2 separate regions of the Homo sapiens genome follow, and region 1 is linked to region 2. The links are contacts of gene promoters, found by promoter capture Hi-C in blood cells and fetal thymus (Javierre and others, 2016). All regions are on one chromosome and are shown on one strand. The core of a region is centred on a gene start or on the middle of the fragment in contact, and the rest is flanking DNA. Distances in the headings are between cores, read along the strand shown. Region 1 has its middle 10 kb from the start of SLC16A11. Region 2 holds the start of TMEM102 (transmembrane protein 102).

Region 1 (3,176 bases), core at 100-2,599, 380 kb after region 2:
TCGAACTCCTGATCTCAGGTGATCCGCCCACCTCGGCCTCCCAAAGTGTTGGGATTACAGGCGTGAGCCACCGGACCCGGCCTGGGATTAGATTTCAACATATGAATTTGACGGGGAGAGGCACAAACATTAAGATCATAGCAATTACCATCTTTTTTTTCCTCAAAAGTAGGAACTATTATAATTTGCTTTGGGGATGAGGGAACTATTGCAAAGAGAGGTTGAATAACTTGCTCTAGGTTATATAGCCAGTAAGTACCAAAGCCAGGGCTTGAACCCAGACAATCTGGTTCCAGGGTTCGTGTTTGTCCCACCATGTTATGTTGCCTCTTAATAACATATACTAAAATACACTCACATTCCACACTAAATATATTTTTACAATTAAAAATTTAAAAGATTTCTTTTTTTTTTTTTTGAGACGGAGTCTTGTTCTGTCGCCCAGGCTGGAGTGCAGTGGTGCGATCCCTGCTCACTGCAAGCTCCGCCTCCTGGGTTCACTCCGTTCTCCTGCCTCATCCTCCCGAGTAGCTGGGACTACAGGTGCCCGCCACTACACCCGGCTAATTTTTTTGTGTTTTTAGTGGAGATGGGGTTTCACCCTGTTAGCCAGGATGGTCTCGATCTCCTGACCTCGTGATCCGCCCACCTCGGCCTCCCAAAGTGCTGGGATTACAAGCGTGAGCCACCGTGCCCGGCCCAAAAATTTAAAAGATTTCTAAGATTTTTTGCCGTTTAAAATCTTAAAAGGACGTTTATTCTTTTAAAGGATTGTTTGTCTATAAGAAACTCAGTGAATCTATGATTGGCTCTGATTTCTCAGCAATCACGATAAACATTTAGGAAATCCTGCAAAGTGAAAAAAAGCTTCAAATTGTTTTCCAATGTAATGAAAATTTAGGAACATGAAATTTAACAAAGAAATGGACTAATATTATGTTTTGTAGACATTTTTAAAAACGCTTTAATATTCATTACTTTAGATTTTTAAGTTTGCCTTTTGTATTTGGAAATCGGTACACTTTTTCATATCCCTAGCATTTCTGTAAGCATGGGGAATGCTTTTAGCCCTAAGCCCTGCATACTTAGGGAATAAATATACTCTCCTCAAGGACAACAGGGAAATAAACCCAGAAACCACATGCCATGCAAGAACAGCGGGGCTTTATGAGTCCTGGAGCTCAGGTGTCAGCCCACTCTGCTGCTCACTGTGTTCAGCACTCACTGGCCACAGTCCTGAAACATCAGCTCTTGGGGCGGTGGCATCAACTTCCTATCTCCCAGATCCCTGGGCCCAGGGAAGGGGAAGCTGATTACCCATAAATCAGGGTGCTCGGCCGGGCATGGTGGCTTAAGCCTGTAATCCCAGCACTTTGGGAGGCCGAGGCAGGTGGATTACCTGAGCTTGGGAGTTCACCACCAGCCTGGGTAACACGGTGAATCCCTGTCTCTACTAAAATACAAAAAATTAGCCGGGCATGGCGGCATGTGCCTGTAATCCCAGCTACTCGGGAGGCTGAGGCAGGCGAATTGCTTGAACCTGGGAGGCGGAGGTTGCAGTGAGCAGAGATTGCGCCACTGCACTCCAGCCTGGGTGACAGAATGAGACTCCATCTAAAAAAAAAAAAATCAGAGTCCTCTTTCTACGTACCCAGTTGATGAGATGCCCGAGGCCCCGCCTCACCTCTCTGTAGGCCTGTGCAGGTGTGATTTCCCTCCAGGTGAGACCATGACACCCGTCCCTCACAAATGTGTTTTAAACCAGAATCGGTCTCATTGCAAGGGACTCCTGATTGTGAATGGAGGAGAGAAAGATAGGATGAAAGCTTGAGATGGAGGTAGCTAAAGCTGGGTATGGCTCTTTGAATGGGATAGAGGGAAGGAACCCTAAAGAAGAGATGCTGCCCAGCATTTAAAACGTTTTGACAGTAGGGGAGAGGCAGGAGAAAGCTTTGCAGAGGAAATGGCATGGAGATGTGGGCAGGGGCAAAGGAGATTCATGGCCAACAAGAGGTACAGAAAGGAACGCACTGGGAGGGACAAGATCCACCTGCACAAGGACAGGAAGAGGCTTGTGTGGCATCCACTGCAGCCAGTTGCAGCCTCTTCAGCGTCTGGGCCCTTCTATGACTTTGGGACTTTCTCAGGGCTTAGCCCCCACGCGACTCCTCCCAGTGTTCACAAAGGCATTTCTGCCTTGGGGCAAGAAAACAGGCACCATTTGCTTACTGGGCCCCCAAAACTCTGCCTTGCATATGTCAGATCCTCCAAGATGTGTAATTTACATCCCTGCAGAAAACCTGTTATCTGACCTCCTGTCCCCTCCTGCCTTGGCTTCTGGTCCTGGTTGATATTCCTTGGGGAGGTAGAGACTCTGGCCAGGCAGGGCTGCTGCAGCCCTAAGGGCTGATGTGGGTTACCATGTCCACTAAGAGCCTGCATCCTTCAAGTCAGATGCCCAGGTCTCAGGCTGAGGCTGGGAAGGCAGACAAAGGGACCCAAAAAACTCAGGTAGCTGAGAGGTTGGTATAGCAGCAGGGAGATGACAAATATCACCTTCTGGCCCCTTCTGGTCTGACTGCCCCTCACAAATCCAGACAGGAGGGGCATAGTGACTTGGAGTAGAATTGGACTGGCGTAGAGATGAAAGGGTGGCTACCGGTGGCTAGAAAATGGGATGGAATGAAATGGATGGGAACCTACATTTGTAGGACGCCTGCCCTGTGCCTGGAGTTGTGCTGGGTCCTTCCCAAGCTTTACTTCACTGAAGTCTCACCAACAATCCTTTGAAGCATTGCCCCCTTTTTATAGATGCCTGGAAATGGTGGGAGTCGGAACTCAGGGACTGTGCTTTTAATAACTCACCAGGTCTGGCTGGGCACAGTGGCTCATGCCTGTAATCCCAGCACTTTGGGAGGCCGAGGTGGGTGGATCACGAGGTCAGGAGTTCGAGACCAGCCTGGCCAATATGGTGAAACCCCGTCTCTACTAAAAATACAAAAATTAGCCGGGCATGGTGGCGGGTGCCTGTAGTCGCAGCTACTCAGGAGGCTGAGGCAGGAGAATCGCTGGAACCCGGGAGGCGGAGGTTGTGGTAAGCCGAGATCGTGCCACTGCACTCCAGCCTGGGCGACAGAGGAGACTCCATCTCAAAAAAAAAAAAAAAAAAAAAAAAA
Region 2 (3,165 bases), core at 46-2,545:
CTTTGGGACTGGGCTTTCGACGGCTGCCTTGGTGACGTCACTACTCATTGTTTTCAAAGGTGCGGTAGAGCCAAGGTCGACGACGTCATGCTGAGGCGACTCGGACGCTGAAACGTCACTAGGCGATTTTTCCAAAGACACCGGCGCCTCGTGCTCAGTGACGTAGCTGTGCGGCTGGTCTACAGAGCTTTGCCAGTCCTTGGAACTTTCTTCGCTCTCCGTTCGGTGGATCGAATCACGTGCTCCTGGGACTGGGGGTCCTAAGCAATCCTGCCACATCTCCCGGATGGGGGTTCCGCACACCATCTCTGGGAGGCAGACCTGTGCGTAACAGGATTCCAGGTCCAGTTGCAGTTCAGTGCCGTCCAGTGAAAACATGGGCACTAGGAGTGTGAAGCCGGCATCGTAGTGAGGTCCCCGGGCGTAGGGACCCAGGGGTGCATGCCCCAGATCCAGGGAGCCCTCGCGAATCCCACCACGAAGCAGCAAGAGCTCTGCCTGGGGAGGAAAGCGAGGGTCCCGGCGGTGAACTAGACCTAAAAAAAGGGAACGGATCGTGAGGGCGTCGCCCAAAGCCGGGGCGGGGGCGGGGGCGTGGTGAGGCTGAGAGCTGTGAGTTCCCAAAGGCAAGTAGGGTTACTTACCAAGCAAAGAGAAGACAAAGTCCTTGGCCCGGAGGAGATCGGCTCCCGGCTTGGGCCCGTCACTCCAGCTCTCCTGCACACCCAGCTCCTGGATCAGCTGGGTCAATTCCTGCAGCTGCGCCCCGGAGCAGAAGTCGATGTCCGTGAGCGGCCGAGCTGGGGCCGGGGGCGGCGGGCCCCACCAGGGGGCACTCCCCCAGACTGCGGAAGCCATGCGGTTCTATCGCTTTGGGCTGCGGAAAACACGGAAGGGAGGTGGCTTTGCTGCCACAAAGTCGTCCCCGTTCTTCCCTCTTCCTGAGGCCGAGCGAGTGCCCCAGACACAACCTACAAATGGGTCTGTAGATGATGGGTTCTAAATTTAGTCCTCAAAATGAACAAATAAATACCTCTTCTATCCTGGCCCTTTTCTCATAGGCAGGTCCCCGCCCCCATGAACTGGTTCACCGGACTCAGCAGGTAAAAAGTAACTGTTGGCTCCTCCTACGGAATGCAGTAGCCAGCCTCCGCTGCCGCCCCTTGTCTACCTCCCTTTACCTCTTTTTTGGAAGAGGCTTATTAGTCTGCGGCTTCCCCCTTATGGGAAGCAGTAAGGGTGGGGAGCAGAAATAGATTCAACAGGTTACTTCTTCCTGATGCCCACGTGGCCACGCCCCTACATTTTCAGCCACGCCCCTTTCTGGAGGCTGTCGAGGTGGTTTCCGCCGGGTCGGGTCGCCAGTCAGAGCTCAATCACTCTTTTGGCCCTGCTGAAATCCCGCGTTATCCTGGGAGTTGTAGTTTCCCGCTCTACTAGGGCGTGGTAGCCACGCCCCCACATCCTTTCCTGTTCCGCTGAAGTAGTGCCTGATGGAAGTTGTAGTTCCTCTGGAGACAGATTATTCTGTGTCTTTTCACACCCATATCAACCCCACTCAAACATTCCTTGGGGTTTGAGAGGGGTAATAGGATGGCTCTGAGTCGCAAAAAATAATGAGGGATGGGCCGGGCGCGGTGGCTCCCGCCTGTAACCCCAGCACTTTGGGAGACTGAGGCGGGTGAATCACCTGAGGTCAGGAGTTCAAGGCCAGCCTGGCCAACATTGCGAAACCCTGTCTCTACTAAAAATACAAAAATTAGCCGGGCGTGGTGGCAGACGCCTGTAATCCCAGCTACTTAGGAGGCTGAGGCAGGAGAATCACTTGAACCTAGGAGGGAAAGGGTGCAGTGAGCTGAGATTGTGCCATTGCACTCCAGCCTGGGTGATAAGAGCGAAACTCCACCCTAGGGCCTGGGGAGAGATAGGGACCCCTGCCTGGGTGGGGTGGGGGGGGTGCATCTTGGAATCCCAAAAGTGGTAGTGTTAGGCAGGAGCACACAGATGGTGACCCAGAAATGGACGTTTGACTCATAGGAGAGACATACATGTTAGTGATGCCCACCTCAGCTCACTGCTACCTGAGTCGTGGCAGGGAAAACACTTTGGGATCTCAAATTTTTGTTTTGTTTTGTTTTGTTTTTGAGACTGAGTCTCGCACTGTTGCCCAGACTGGAGTGCTGTGGCGCAATCTCCGCTCACTGCAACCTCCACCTCCCGGGTTCAAGCAGTTCTCCTGCCTCAGCCTCCCGAGAAGCTGGGATTACGGCGCCTGCCACCATACCTGGCTAATTTTTTGTATTTTTAGTAGAGACAGGGTTTCACCATGTTGGCCAGGCTGGTCTTGAACTCCTGACCTCAGGTGATCCTCCCACCTCGGCCTCCCAAAGTGTTGGGATTATAGGCACGCGCCACTGCACCCGGCCTGGGCCACGACTTCTTACATTCCTTCTGCCCTTGGTCTGTCTCCAGGACGGGATAGGCCTAAGTCCATGGATAAGATAATTAAGGAGGACATCTAGGAAAATTAGAGGCCTGTAAAAGAAGAGACTCCCCAACTGTAGAGATCAATTTGGCAAGCCCAGGACTCAGGGGTTCCTCGTCACTGACAGAGAGTTTTCTCCTTCAGCAACCAGAGCTGGGGTCCCTGGGAGAAGCGAGAGCACCAAAGCAGCCCAGAACTGCGCAAGTAGGTTCCCGTACACACACATCTGGCTGTGACCCAAGAGGCCAGATCAGGAGAACTGGAGACTGGGCTGTTTCTCACAGTCTGGAGTAACCAGGCATCAGACATCCCTGCATCTCACCTCCTTCCCAGAGGGTGGCTTCCGAGGCACTCTAAAAAGAACTAAGTTCTCTGGACTCTGTGGAAGCTTTGAAGATGTTAAGAATGGGTGACAAGGAATAGTTCCTCTAAACTCTAAAGCATGGCTCTCCAATATAATTTTCTGTGACGATAGCAATGTCCTGAGTTGGTCCTGTCTGATACAGTAGCCACCAGCAGCCACCTGTGGCTGTTGAGCACTTGAAATGTAGATAATGTGGCCAGGCGCCCTGGCTCACGCCTGTAATCCCAACACTTTGGGAGGCCGAGGCGGGTGGATCACTTGAGGTCAGGAGTTCGAGACTAGCCTGGCCAACATGGTGAAACCCCATCTCTACTAA

The links. Contacts are between HindIII fragments. The CHiCAGO score rates a contact against its expected background, and 5 or more counts as called.
Region 1: a fragment that was not itself captured here is called in contact with the fragment with the promoter of TMEM102 in region 2 in 1 of 17 cell types (total B cells); the score reaches 5.9 in total B cells.

The regions. Positions count from the first base shown.
Region 1 is chr17:7,052,891-7,056,066 of GRCh38, reverse strand. No RefSeq gene overlaps it. Among named protein-coding and RNA genes, the nearest start is that of SLC16A11, 10 kb to the right of the region's middle. The HindIII fragment of the contact is 959 bases long and covers 870-1,828 here.
Region 2 is chr17:7,433,565-7,436,729 of GRCh38, reverse strand. It overlaps TMEM102 (transmembrane protein 102), which reads right to left and starts at 1,295. Exons shown (of 3, transcript NM_178518.3): 1 at 1,034-1,295; 2 at 645-877; 3 at 1-536. The coding sequence starts at 858. RefSeq lists enhancers at 1-390, 1,442-1,611. The HindIII fragment of the contact is 10,292 bases long and covers 1-2,875 here.